Linked DNA regions of Homo sapiens: regions 1, 2 and 4 are each linked to region 3. The links are contacts of gene promoters, found by promoter capture Hi-C in human tissues and cell types (Jung and others, 2019). All regions are on one chromosome and are shown on one strand. Each heading gives the region's core, a stretch centred on a gene start or on the middle of the fragment in contact. The rest is flanking DNA. Distances are from core to core; before and after follow the strand shown. Region 1 overlaps SMYD3 (SET and MYND domain containing 3). Region 2 overlaps SMYD3 (SET and MYND domain containing 3). Region 3 holds the start of KIF26B (kinesin family member 26B). Region 4 has its middle 390 kb from the start of SMYD3-AS1.

Region 1 (2,887 bases), core at 102-2,601, 680 kb after region 3:
CTCACTGCCTTTCTTGGAGGAGGGAGGGGAGGCCTTTGCCAACTTTGTCTACCTCCACGCTTTTTGGGCTTACTTTCTAATGAATGGGCAGGTCTGGGGCATCTTTTACCACATTCAGTCCAGAAAGGATCTGTCTGTCTCATCTAACCTAAAGCCTGGCTCAATAATGCCTGGTCAAGAGGCTGGGTCTCACCCTTCGGGGCTCGTTTATATAATGAGTGTCTCTGGGTTCAGATCTTCTCAATAAAAGATGTCTGCCTAGCACAATCCTTCTGAAATTTAATGGCTGCAACCCTGACAGCCTTCAGGCTGGGAATTTATCCGACATCAAATGAACAGGCAGCAAACAGGATGGAGCAATCTTTCCCAAAGTGTGTTCCATGGAACTCCAGGGTTCCATGGGCAGTTAAGTTTGGGACAATGCATTCCACCCCTGTCTTATTTCTAAGATTCTAAGACATCATCAGTTTTAAGCTCCTCATCGATTTAATGTTTTTTTTGTTTTTTTTTTTTTGAGAGTTGAGGAGAAGACGACACCTGATTATAAGTAATATAGTTTTGTTTTTAACACACAGTAAGAGCCTACATTTATCTAGATGAGCACTCAGGATTTCTTCTTTAGTATCTCAGTTACAGTTTGCATCTAATCACTCTTTGCCATCTGAGTCTAAGGGTTCACTGAGTCACTTTTGACCATTAGAAGTTATATGGAATCTTAGAGGGACAAGTTGCTTTTCATAAACTTATGATCTTGGTCTCCTTTGTATCCTTAGAATAAACAACATAATGTTGAATCCTGTAAAGAAATATTCAAGTTTCATGTGCCTTTTTTTATAAGCTTATTGTTTCATATTTTCCTTAATTGAATAACGTGACTGAAAGGTATTGACTTTGCTAAGTGTCAGCTGGAAGCTCTTGACAGATTCTTGGAGATGGAGTGATAGTTCTTCATAATGGGGGAATCAGCATTCCAAGAACTGTCAAACCACCTTCTCCGCACAGTGAAGCTTCCACGATCCATTCCTAGACATTTGGCAATCTCTGTTGCCTTTAATTACTGCCCGGAATATGTGACAAAAAAAAAAAAAAAACCTGCTTTTATAATGCTGATTCATAACAATGTTTTTAAAATACACATTTTGGAATAATTTTAGATTTACAGAAAAGTTGCAAAGATAGTAGAGTGTTCCTATACACCCTTTACCCAGTCCTCTGTTGCTAACATCTTACATTACCAAGGAACATTTGTCAAAACTAAGAAGCAAATGTTGGTATGTGACTATTAACTAAACCCCAGGCTTTACTTAGATTTCACCCGTGCATCTACCCACGTCTCTTTTATGTTCTGTTCTGACAACAATGCATTCAGTTGTCATGTTGCCTCAGTCTCCTCTGCTCTGTGGCAGTTTCTCAATCTTTTCTTGACAGTCTTGAAGCGTCCTGGCCAAATGTACTGTACAATGTACTCTGATCTGTGTTTCTCTCTTGCTTTTCTCAAGACTAAATGGAGGTATTTTTGTAAAAAATGCCACAGAAGTAAAGTACCCTTCTCATTACATCCTATCACAGGGGACGTGGCAGCCACATGGCCTCACTTGTGAAGCTAACCTGATCCCTTAGTTAAGGTAGTGTTTGCCAAGTTTTTCCACTGCAAGGTGTAGCAAATGAAGGGATCTAAGTTAAATTCAACTTTGGTGGACTCCCTATTTTAAGAACTCACCTGAGGTGCCATCAAATGGGCAAGCATGTACAAAGACTGGCTAGGTCCCTGCATCTTGTGCAGGCAGGGACAACCTCAGCGTCCTGGCCAGGGCCGGGAGCTCATTGGCGTGAGAAGCCAGACACACTCACTCTCAGGGTCTCACCCGCATGAATCTTGCACCCCATGCACCTCATTTAACTTGCTCTATGCCCATCCCCGCTTCTGACACTGATTCCAAAGTTTACTCTAATTTTAGAAACATTGAAGTATAAAAACATGGGCTTTTTATTTTAGAATCAAGTGTACTGTAAAGGTTCTGGGACATCCTGCAGTAACCTTATTTAACCTACAGTTTCCCAAACTAATTTGATCACAGAGTCCTCTTTTCACTTAAGGCCCTTTCTTCACCTGAACCTATGAATAGAGGGGAAGGAACAGGGCTGAGCCAGCTGAATCTGCTTTGAGTCCCAGCTGCCTGACTGTGGCAAGCTTCCTCATAAAGGAATGCTCTTCAGAGCCTCTGACATCCTCAGTCACAATTCTGATGCATTTAAATGCATTTCTTTGACCTCTCATACACCCCTGGGAAGGCTCTGCTTGCACGTCTGTGAGCTATGCACGGATATACTGACAGTCCTATGGAAGTGGCTGACCTTTGTCACGATATCCGGGAGTAAAAATGGTCCAGACAGGCAGGTAAGCATGCGAACACTGAGTTCCAAAATCGTATCAGAGCTGCCTGCTCATTGGACCACTGTGAATGAGGATGGGCTCACCCCAGCCCCCTACTAACCTTTGCATCCTTTAACTGCCAGGACTCATACCTGACTCTAATAGAATGAACTTCTGTTCTCTGATACTACATCTTAACGTCCTCTGAGGAACACTGTAGTGGCAGGTGGGTAAGCTGAAAATTTAGGAAGCAAATTATAATAGACATCCTAGCCAACCTCATTTCACAGTTCTGAGCAGCCCCAGTGGAGCAATCTTCCTGTTCGGAGGATCACGGCAACACAGGGAGTAATCACCATTTCAGCCCGTACATGGGAGGCCAGAAAGGGAGATCCTAGTGTCATTTAGGCCCAGGCTCTGCCTTGGCTATTGACAAGGTCTTTTAGGGTATGGGGTTACATTTTTGTCCCACTAAATGACAGCAGCATTTGGTGGGTAACATGCATACATAAG
Region 2 (3,162 bases), core at 596-3,095, 660 kb after region 3:
ACACATGGATCCCAGATCAACCAAGGGGATTTTAGAGACATGGGGCCTAGCCCCCAAGTGACTCTGATGCATATTAAGACTTGAGCATCACAGGTCAAGAAGTACACAGATCCCAGTTATCAACATAGCCAGATGGCTGGTGGTAGAAGCAACCCTGTCCCTGTAGCACCTCTCTGTGTCCTGCTCAAAAGCATTAAAACATCATTCTTAGATAAGAACAGAGACAAAGGATATGTCTTTAACACTTTACAGTCTATAAAGTTTTTCCACAGCCACTGTCTCACTGAATCAACCCCTAAGAGACAGAAATGAAAATCGCTGTTTTTACAAACTGAGAAATTACGGGCCTTTGAAGTGTTTCACAGCCTTCACAGCCTGCTGGTAAGAAGCAGAGATCAGGCCTTGGACCTGGGTCTTGTGATTCCAAAGCCCATGATCCTTCGGATTCATCAAAGCTCCACTCCAAGTGCCTACTGGGACTGCCTTGCAGCACTCACCTTCTGTAGGTGAGTAGGTAAGTTGCGGCATGCCATTCTTTCAAAAGAACAGTGCACCTCTGTGACCGAATATGGGCCACAGTATCTCAAGGATATTTTGGTCAAAGCCCTGGGGTGTGGGGCAGAAGATAATGTATTCAATGAAGCTTCTAGAGAAAAGCATAATAAATAAAGAAGCTCCTACCTGTCGCTAGCCTTCCTAAATATCCCAAGAAATCAAGAATTTTCTCCCAATGGATTACAGCTGAGCATCTACTCAGAAGAGAAAATCAAGTCCATTTCAGTTTAGACGGCAGCAGCAAACTCCCCACAGAGAGTACTCCCGGGGTGGCTAGGGGGTGGACAGTGCCATTACTGTATCAATCAGGCCAAGGAGTGGGGCTTGCACTACTGTTTGCTAGAATGGAGCTTGGCTCTAAAACAGGATTCTCAGACACATTTCAGAATAGGACGACTGGAACAATGCAATACTCATCTAAGCAACTGCAAAAGCCAGCTACAACCCAACTCAAGGTGCCATCTATTATGAGAGGTCCCCTTCATCTATGTAAAAAAAAAAAAAAAAAAAAAAGAGGAGCCAAGATGGCCGAATAGGAACAGCTCCAGTCTACAGCTCCCAGCGTGAGTGACATAGAAGACGGTGATTTCTGCATTTCCATCTGAGGTACCGGGTTCATCTCACTAGGGAGTGCCAGACAGTGGGCACAGGTCAGTGGGTGCGCGCACCGTGCGCGAGCCGAAGCAGGGTAAGGCAATGCCTCACTCGGGAAGCGCCAGGGGTCAGGGAGTTCCCTTTCCTAGTCAAAGAAAGGGGTGACGGACGCACCTGGAAAATCGGGTCACTCCCACCCGAATATTGCGCTTTTCGGACCGGCCTAAAAAACGGCGCACCACGAGATTATATCCCGCATCTGGCTCGGAGGGTCCTACCCGACGGAGTCTCGCTGATTGCCAGCACAGCAGTCTGAGATCAAACTGCAAGGCGGCAGCGAGGCTGGGGGAGGGGCGCCCGCCATTGCCCAGGCTTGCTTAGGTAAACAAAGCAGCCGGGAAGCTCGAACTGGGTGGAGCCCACCACAGCTCAAGGAGGCCTGCCTGCCTCTGTAGGCTCCACCTCTGGGGGCAGGGCACAGACAAACAAAAACACAGCAGTAACCTCTGCAGACTTAAGTGTCCCTGTCTGACAGCTTTGAAGAGAGCAGTGGTTCTCCCAGCACGCAGCTGGAGATCTGAGAACGGGCAGACTGCCTCCTCAAGTGGGTCCCTGACCCCTGACCCCCGAGCAGCCTAACTGGGAGGCACCCCCCAGCAGGGGCACACTGACACCTCACATGGCAGGGTATTCCAACAGCCCTGCAGCTGAGGGTCCTGCCTGTTAGAAGGAAAACTAACAAACAGAAAGCACATCCACACCAAAAACCCATCTGTACATCACCATCATCAAAGACCAAAAGTAGATAAAACCACAAAGATGGGGAAAAAACAGAACAGAAAAACTGGAAACTCTAAAAAGCAGAGCACCTCTCCTCCTCCAAAGGAACGCAGTTCCTCACCAGCAACGGAACAAAGCTGGACGGAGAATGACTTTGATGACCTGAGAGAAGAAGGCTTCAGACGATCAAATTACTCTGAGCTATGGGAGGACATTCAAACCAAAGGCAAAGAAGTTGAAAACTTTGAAAAAAATTTAGAAGAATGTATAACTAGAATAACCAATACAGAGAAGTGCTTAAAGGAGCTGATGGAGCTGAAAACCAAGGCTCGAGAACTATGTGAAGAATGCAGAAGCCTCAGGAGCCGATGTGATCAACTGGAAGAAAGGGTATCAGTGATGGAAGATGAAATGAATGAAATGAAGTGAGAAGGGAAGTTTAGAGAAAAAAGAATAAAAAGAAATGAGCAACGCCTCCAAGAAATATGGGACTATGTGAAAAGACCAAATCTACGTCTGATTGGTGTACCTGAAAGTGATGGGGAGAATGGAAACAAGTTGGAAAGCACTCTGCAGGATATTATCCAGGAGAACTTCCCCAATCTAGCAAGGCAGGCCAACATTCAGATTCAGGAAATACAGAGAACGCCACAAAGATACTCCTCGAGAAGAGCAACTCCAAGACACATAATTGTCAGATTCACCAAAGTTGAAATGAAGGAAAAAATGTTAAGGGCAGCCAGAGAGAAAGATCGGGTTACCCTCAAAGGGAAGCCCATCAGACTAACAGCGGATCTCTCAGCAGAAACCCTACAAGCCAGAAGAGAGTGGGGAGCAATATTCAACATTCTTAAAAAGAATTTTCAACCCAGAATTTCATATCCAGCCAAACTAAGCTTCATAAGTGAAGGAGAAATAAAATACTTTACAGACAAGCAAATGCTGAGAGATTTTGTCACCACCAGGCCTGCCCTAAAAGAGCTCCTGAAGGAAGCGCTAAACATCGAAAGGAACAACCGGTACCAGCCACTGCAAAATCATGCCAAAATGTAAAGACCATTGAGACTAGGAAGAAACTGCATCAACTAACGAGCAAAATAACCAGCTAACATCATAATGACAGGATCAAATTCACACATAACAATATTAACTTTAAACGTAAATGGACTAAATGCTCCAATTAAAAGACACAGACTGGCAAATTGGATAAAGAGTCAAGACCCATCAGTGTGC
Region 3 (2,820 bases), core at 175-2,674:
TGGTGGCTGTGAAATATTCCCGCGCAGGAGCTGGAGCGGGGAGGAGTGGGGCAGAGCACGGGAGGCACAGAAGAAATTGTCCCCGAGGAAGGCAGAGTGGGGGCGTGGCCCCAGGCTTCCAGAACCCCGAACCTTTGTCTTCTTGCCCCCTCCTGCGTCGTCCACAGCTCAGAAGGAAGTCAGCGACCAGAAAGCCCTGAACGTCCTTCGCGCCCTCGCCCACCCCCGGGCTGGGTCTCCCCGCGGGCGCGGAGATGCCGTTACACCCCACGTGATCCCTGCGCCCGGCCAGTCCTTCCAGAGGCGTCTCGCGGGGTGTTAATTAAAGGTCACAACAAAACAGACCTGCTGGCTCACCAGAAGAAATGTCCTCCCGTGAAATGAAAAATGACACCCCAGAGCAGCCACGTGTGGAGCCTGGCATACGCCGGCTTCCTGCGCTCCTGGGCGCTGCGCCGGGGGACTGGGGCGGGGGGCGATCGGAGAGGGAGCGATGACGGGGTGCTCCGGAGACCCCGCGGGGCCCAGGCGCAGGAAGAAACGGGCGGCGGGGGGCGAGGGGCCCGATCCCACGCAAGGAGAGGCCAAGGCCAGCTCGCGCCACACCCCCTCTCCAGGCCAGAGTCGTCCGCGTGCAGCGCGGCGAAGCCCTCAGTTTCCCCTGCCCGGCAGCGGCCCGCTGGGTCACCAGGCTCACCTGTCCCAGCCCCGGGCGGCTTAGTCCATCACAGACCGGGGCTCGGGCGGGCGGGGGACCAAGGGCCCTAGTCCTGCGGCTGCGGTCGGGGAGGGTGGCCCCCCGGCCGGCCCGGGGTCGGTAGGGCAATTCCAGAAAAGGTTTGCCCGGCAGCTCTCCGAGAACAAAGGGCGGGGGGAGGACCCGGCATGTTTGTGGACTTGTTTGTGACTCAATCCCTTTTGCACGGCGTTTCACAGACAGACCTGCAAGCCTTGTCAGGAAGAGAAAGAACTTGGGGGCGGGGGAGGCTGGGGCACCGCATTTCCGTCCAGCCACGCTCGCTCGCGCGGCCCCCGGGCTCCAGGCTCGCGCAGCGGCGTTTCATTAGAGCCCCGGGCCCGGGCCGCGCGCCAGGAACTTCCCCGCACGCGGCGAGATCGACGATCCCCCGCCCCCAGCCCCAGCCCGGCTCCAGGCCTCGCAATGTCAGGCACGAGCGCCGCCACATAAAATGGATCCCGGCCGGCGCGGCGAGGGCGGCAGGTTCCCGAGGCTCCTCCGCGCTGCGCCCGGGCGCACACGCGCGCTGTGACCGCCGACCGCTCCCGGGCCACGCGGAGCCGCCCCTCTCCCGGCCCTCGCGCAACTGTCAGGCGAAACGGGCCGGCGGATATTGGCTCGGCGACACGCCGAGGCTCCTCCCCGAGTCTGGATCTTTATATTTTGGGAGAATTTCTTTGAACTCAGTTACCAAGCTCGGTGAAGGAGACAAGTTCCCACAGCTGACTCGGCTCGGCTCTCCCACCTTCCCGGCAGCGGCCGCGAGCCCTGATTGTATCCCTCGCTTTCCTCGTGGGGGAGCACGGACTGACTTGGCTGAAGAAAATGCCAGTTCTGTGGATGTGGCCGTGACAAGAGGACGTGCGGCTGGAAGAGGCAGAAGGGGACGAGGAAAAGCATGCTTTGAAGAGAAGAATAAACCAGCGACCCCAACCCTTTCTGCAAATTGGTGCTATTACTTGTGGGATCCATTTGCTTTCATTCCCTCCCACCCCACCGCTGAAGAAACCTTGCCCTGAGGGCTGAGAGCCAGCCCCCTGCAGCCGGGGGACGCTTCTGGGTTGGAGGACCTTCTGGATGTAGCGTCGGTGGAACCTTTAGATACTCTCCTCTGGAAAAGCCACCATGAATTCGGTAGCTGGGAATAAAGAGAGGCTTGCGGTCTCCACCAGGGGCAAGAAATACGGGGTAAGTTGTGACGGTACGACGCGGAGACGCGTTACCAGACCCATCTCGGCGGAGGTCCCCCTTTCCCCGGGATCGTGCGGCCCCGGCCCCGAGCTCTCCCCCGCTGCAGAGGCGCCCCCGGGGCTGGCGGGGTTGTGAGTGCGCGGAGGCGGGTCGGCCGCGGGGACGCCCGCACGCTCGCCTCGCTCTCGGAATTTTTTCAGCCCTCTCGTTCCTTCCTTTCCACGCACCCGTAACTTTTGCCGCATTCCTGCACTTCTAGGCAGAGTGAAGCCGAAGGGGAGGGTTTCCCATGAATGCTGGGCAGTACCTCGGATCGTTTAGCTGGAGCCGTGAGAGCCTCTCGTTTACCTGCAGGATCCGGAGAGTTGGACCCCGTATGAATAAAAATCCTGAAATCACAGCCCTCCCCCTACCCCCCCCATAGGGTCTTCCAGGATTTTGTTCCCGGGATCTTGCTGGGATAGGTGCCGGCTTCAAAAGCGTGGGGCGCTGAACCTATGGATCCCCCCCGCCTTGCAGAAGCCGTGGAAACGGCCCCGAGCGAGTCCCCTTCCTGACCCCAGGAGGAGGCCACCGGGGACCAGCGCAGGGGTCACCTGGGCGGTGGGGACTCACTTAAGGACAATTAACGAGACAGACGGAGGGCAATTTGGCCGCAGGGCTTGGAGAGGTCCCCAACCGACTCCCGTGGGCGGTTCGAGCGGGTACTTGGTGGCGCACGTATGACCCAGCTCCTGGGCGCTGCAGCCCGCCGCCTTGCAGCCCCTGACACCGGCGTGTCTTCCCCGCAGGTGAATGAAGTCTGCTCGCCCACCAAGCCCGCAGCGCCCTTCTCCCCGGAAAGCTGGTACCGGAAAGCATACGAGGAGTCGCGCGCCGGCAGCCGGCCC
Region 4 (3,141 bases), core at 605-3,104, 570 kb after region 3:
GCTAGTCTGGGGGAGGGGTGGAGCAAAATGGCTGACTACAAGGCTCCACTGATTGTCCCCACAGCAGGAATGCCAAATTCAACAGCTATCCACATAAAGACAGCATCTTTATAAAACCAACAATCAGGTGAGCACTCACAGTCCCTGGTTTTAATTCTATCACTGAAAGAGGCACCAAGGAAGGTAGCAAGGAGAGTCCTGAATTGCCAGTGCCCCACTTCCTCCATCGCCCAACAGCGGCCATGTGGCACAGAGCAAGAACCTGTGCACTCAGGAGAGACAGCACAGTGATTATGAGACTTTACACTGAACTCAGCACTGCCCTGTCACAGTAGAAAGCAAAACCAGACTGAACTCAACTGATGAACGCCCAGGGAGGGAGCATTCAGATGGGCCCAAGCTGGAGGGGAACCGCTGTCCCCGTGGGGGGAATCTGAGTTCCAGCAAGCCTCACCACCATGGGCTAAAGTGCTCTGGGGCCATAAATAAACCTAAAAGGCAGTCTATACCACAAGGACTGTAACTCTTAGGCAAGTCCTAGTGCTGAGCTGGGCTCGAAGCCAGTGGGCTTGGGGAGCATGCGACCTACTGAGACACCACCCAACACAGCTAAAGGAGTGTTTGCACCAGTCCTTCCCCAACCCCAGGCAGCACAGCTCTTGGCTCCAAAAGAGATCCCTCCATTCTGCTTGAGGAGAGGGGAGGGAAGAGTAAAGAGTAAAGAGAACTTTGTCTTACATCTTGGGTACCAGCTCACCCAAAGTAGGATAGGGCACTAGTCAGAGTTGTGAAGTCCCCATTTCAGGTCCTTCCTCCTGGATGACATTTCCAGACACACCCAGGGCCAAAAGGGAACCCACTGCTTTGAAAGGAAGGACCCAGTGCTATCAGGATCCATCACCTGCTGGCTAAAGAGCTCCTGGGTCCTGAATAACCAGCAGCAATATCCAAGTAATATCCAGGTGGTGGTAGCCATGGGCTGCCTGTGGAAACGGGACGAAAGAGTGGGAAGAGCTGGGACTCATGGTTTGAGTGCCAGCTCAGCTGCAGTAGAATAGAACACCAGGTATATTTCTAAGGATTTTGGTTCCAGTACGTGGCTCCTGGACAGCACCTCTGGACCTGCCCAGGGCCTAAGGGAACCCAATGCCCTGAAGAGAAGGACACATGCCTGGTTGGCTTCACCACCTGCTTACTGTAAAGCCCCAGGGCCTCGAGCAAATATAGGCCATAGCCAGGTAGTGCTTCTAGCAGGCCTTGGGTGAAACTCACTACTGTGCTGGCTTCAGGTCTGACCAGTGCAGCCCCAGTGATAGTGGCCACAGGGGAGCTTGTGTCACCTCACACCCAACTCCAGGTAGCTCAGCACAGAGAGAGAGACTATGTTTGTTTGGGAGAAAGTAAGGGAAGAGAACAAGAATCTTTGCTTGGTATCCAGAGAACGCTTGCAGATCTTATCCAAGACCACAAAGGTGGTACCTCTATGAGTCTGCAAGAACCACAGTGTTACCAGGCTTGGGGTGCCTTGTAATACAAACATGACTTAGATAACACACCCAAGTCCTTTCAAATACCTCAAAAGCCTTCCCAAGAAGAACAGGCACAAACAGCCCAGATTGCAAAGACTATAAGTACCTAACTCTTCAATGCCCAGACACCAAAGAACATCCACAAGCATCAAAACCATTCAGGAAAATGTGGCCTCACCAAATGAACTAAATCAGGCATCAGGGAACAATCCCAGAGAAACAGAGATATGCAACTTTTCAGACAGAGAATTCAAAACAGCCATTTTGAGGAAACTCTGAGAAATTCAAGATAACACAGAAATGGAATTCAGAATTCTATCACATAAATTGAACAAAGAGATTAAAATAATTAAAAAGAATCAAGCAGAAATTCTGGAGCTGAAATTGCAAATGACATACTGAAGAATGCATCCGTTATTGGCCTTAAAGAGGAGGTAGAGAAGGAGATAGGGATAGAAAGTTTATTCAAAGGGTTAACAGAGAACACCTCAAACCCAGAAGATATCAATATCTAAGTAAAAGAAGGCTACAGAACACCAAGCAGATTTAACTCAAAGAAGACTACCTCGAAGCATTTAAAAATCAAACTCCCAAAGGTCAACAATAAAGAAAAGATCCTAAAAGCAGCAAAATAAAAGAAACAAATAACCCATTGGAGTTTCAATATAGCTAGCAGCCGACTTCTCAGTGGAGAACTGATAGTCGAGAAGAGCATATTTAAAGTGCTGAAGGAAAAAAACTTTTACCCTAGAATAGAATATCTATCGAAAATATCCTTCATACATGAAGGAAGAATACTTTCTCAGATAAACAAAGGCTGAGGGATTTCAACAAAGACTAGAACTGTCCTACAAGAAATGTTAAAGGAAGTATTTCAATCAGAAAGAAAAGGATGTTAATGAGCAATAAGAAATCATCTGAAAATACAAAACTTACTGGTAATAGTAAGCACACAGAAAAACACAGAATATTAAACATTGTAACTCTGGCTTGTAAACTACTCTTACCTTGAGTAGAAAAGACTAAAAGATGAACTAATAAAAAATAATAACTACAACTATTCAAGACATAGACAATACAATAATACATACATTTAAAAGTTAAAAATATATAAATTTAATATATAAATTTAAAAAGTTAAAAAACACGGGATGAAATTAAAGTGTAGTTAACCTAACCATTATTAGGATTTTTTGCTTCTTTGTTTATGCAAGCAGTCTTAAAATAATGGGTAATAGATATTATTTGTAAGCCTAATGGTAACCTCAAATCAAAAAACATACAATGGATATGCCAAAAATAAAAAGCAAGAAATTAAATCCTACCACCAGAGAAAATCACTTTCACTAAAAGAAAGACAGGAAGGAAGGAAATAAGAAGGAGAAGACCACAAAATAACCATTGCATTGGGCCTGCCTGGGTGGTCCGTGCAACCCAAGAGAGTGAGGAAAAGCAGGGTGGGGCAACAGCCCACCCTTGAGCGGGGTGGAACCAGGTGAGCCCTCACCCCAGGCAAGAAAGGTGGTGAGTGATTGTACAACGCCCCCCCAGGAAGCCATGCTTTTCCCATGGATCTTTGCAACCCGCAGATCAGGAGATCCCCTTGTGCACC

The links. The method cuts DNA at HindIII sites, captures the fragments that hold promoters and counts their contacts. A contact is called where the count stands out against the background at its distance.
Region 1: a contact is called between a fragment that was not itself captured here and the fragment with the promoter of KIF26B in region 3, in 2 of the 25 tissues and cell types used here (H1 embryonic stem cells and hippocampus).
Region 2: a fragment that was not itself captured here is called in contact with the fragment with the promoter of KIF26B in region 3 in 1 of the 25 tissues and cell types used here (lymphoblastoid cells).
Region 4: a fragment that was not itself captured here is called in contact with the fragment with the promoter of KIF26B in region 3 in 1 of the 25 tissues and cell types used here (dorsolateral prefrontal cortex).

The regions. Positions count from the first base shown.
Region 1 is chr1:245,831,985-245,834,871 of GRCh38, forward strand. All of the region lies in intron 10 of SMYD3 (SET and MYND domain containing 3), which reads right to left. Among named protein-coding and RNA genes, the nearest start is that of SMYD3-AS1, 280 kb to the right of the region's middle. The HindIII fragment of the contact is 3,161 bases long and covers 1-2,887 here.
Region 2 is chr1:245,815,472-245,818,633 of GRCh38, forward strand. All of the region lies in intron 10 of SMYD3 (SET and MYND domain containing 3), which reads right to left. Among named protein-coding and RNA genes, the nearest start is that of SMYD3-AS1, 290 kb to the right of the region's middle. RefSeq lists enhancers at 747-1,362, 1,363-1,977. The HindIII fragment of the contact is 3,850 bases long and covers 1-3,162 here.
Region 3 is chr1:245,153,561-245,156,380 of GRCh38, forward strand. It overlaps KIF26B (kinesin family member 26B), which reads left to right and starts at 1,425. Exons shown (of 15, transcript NM_018012.4): 1 at 1,425-1,927; 2 at 2,722-2,820. The coding sequence starts at 1,865. RefSeq lists enhancers at 1-236, 237-912 and a silencer at 767-966. The HindIII fragment of the contact is 11,465 bases long and covers 1-2,820 here.
Region 4 is chr1:245,720,583-245,723,723 of GRCh38, forward strand. No RefSeq gene overlaps it. Among named protein-coding and RNA genes, the nearest start is that of SMYD3-AS1, 390 kb to the right of the region's middle. The HindIII fragment of the contact is 4,564 bases long and covers 1-3,141 here.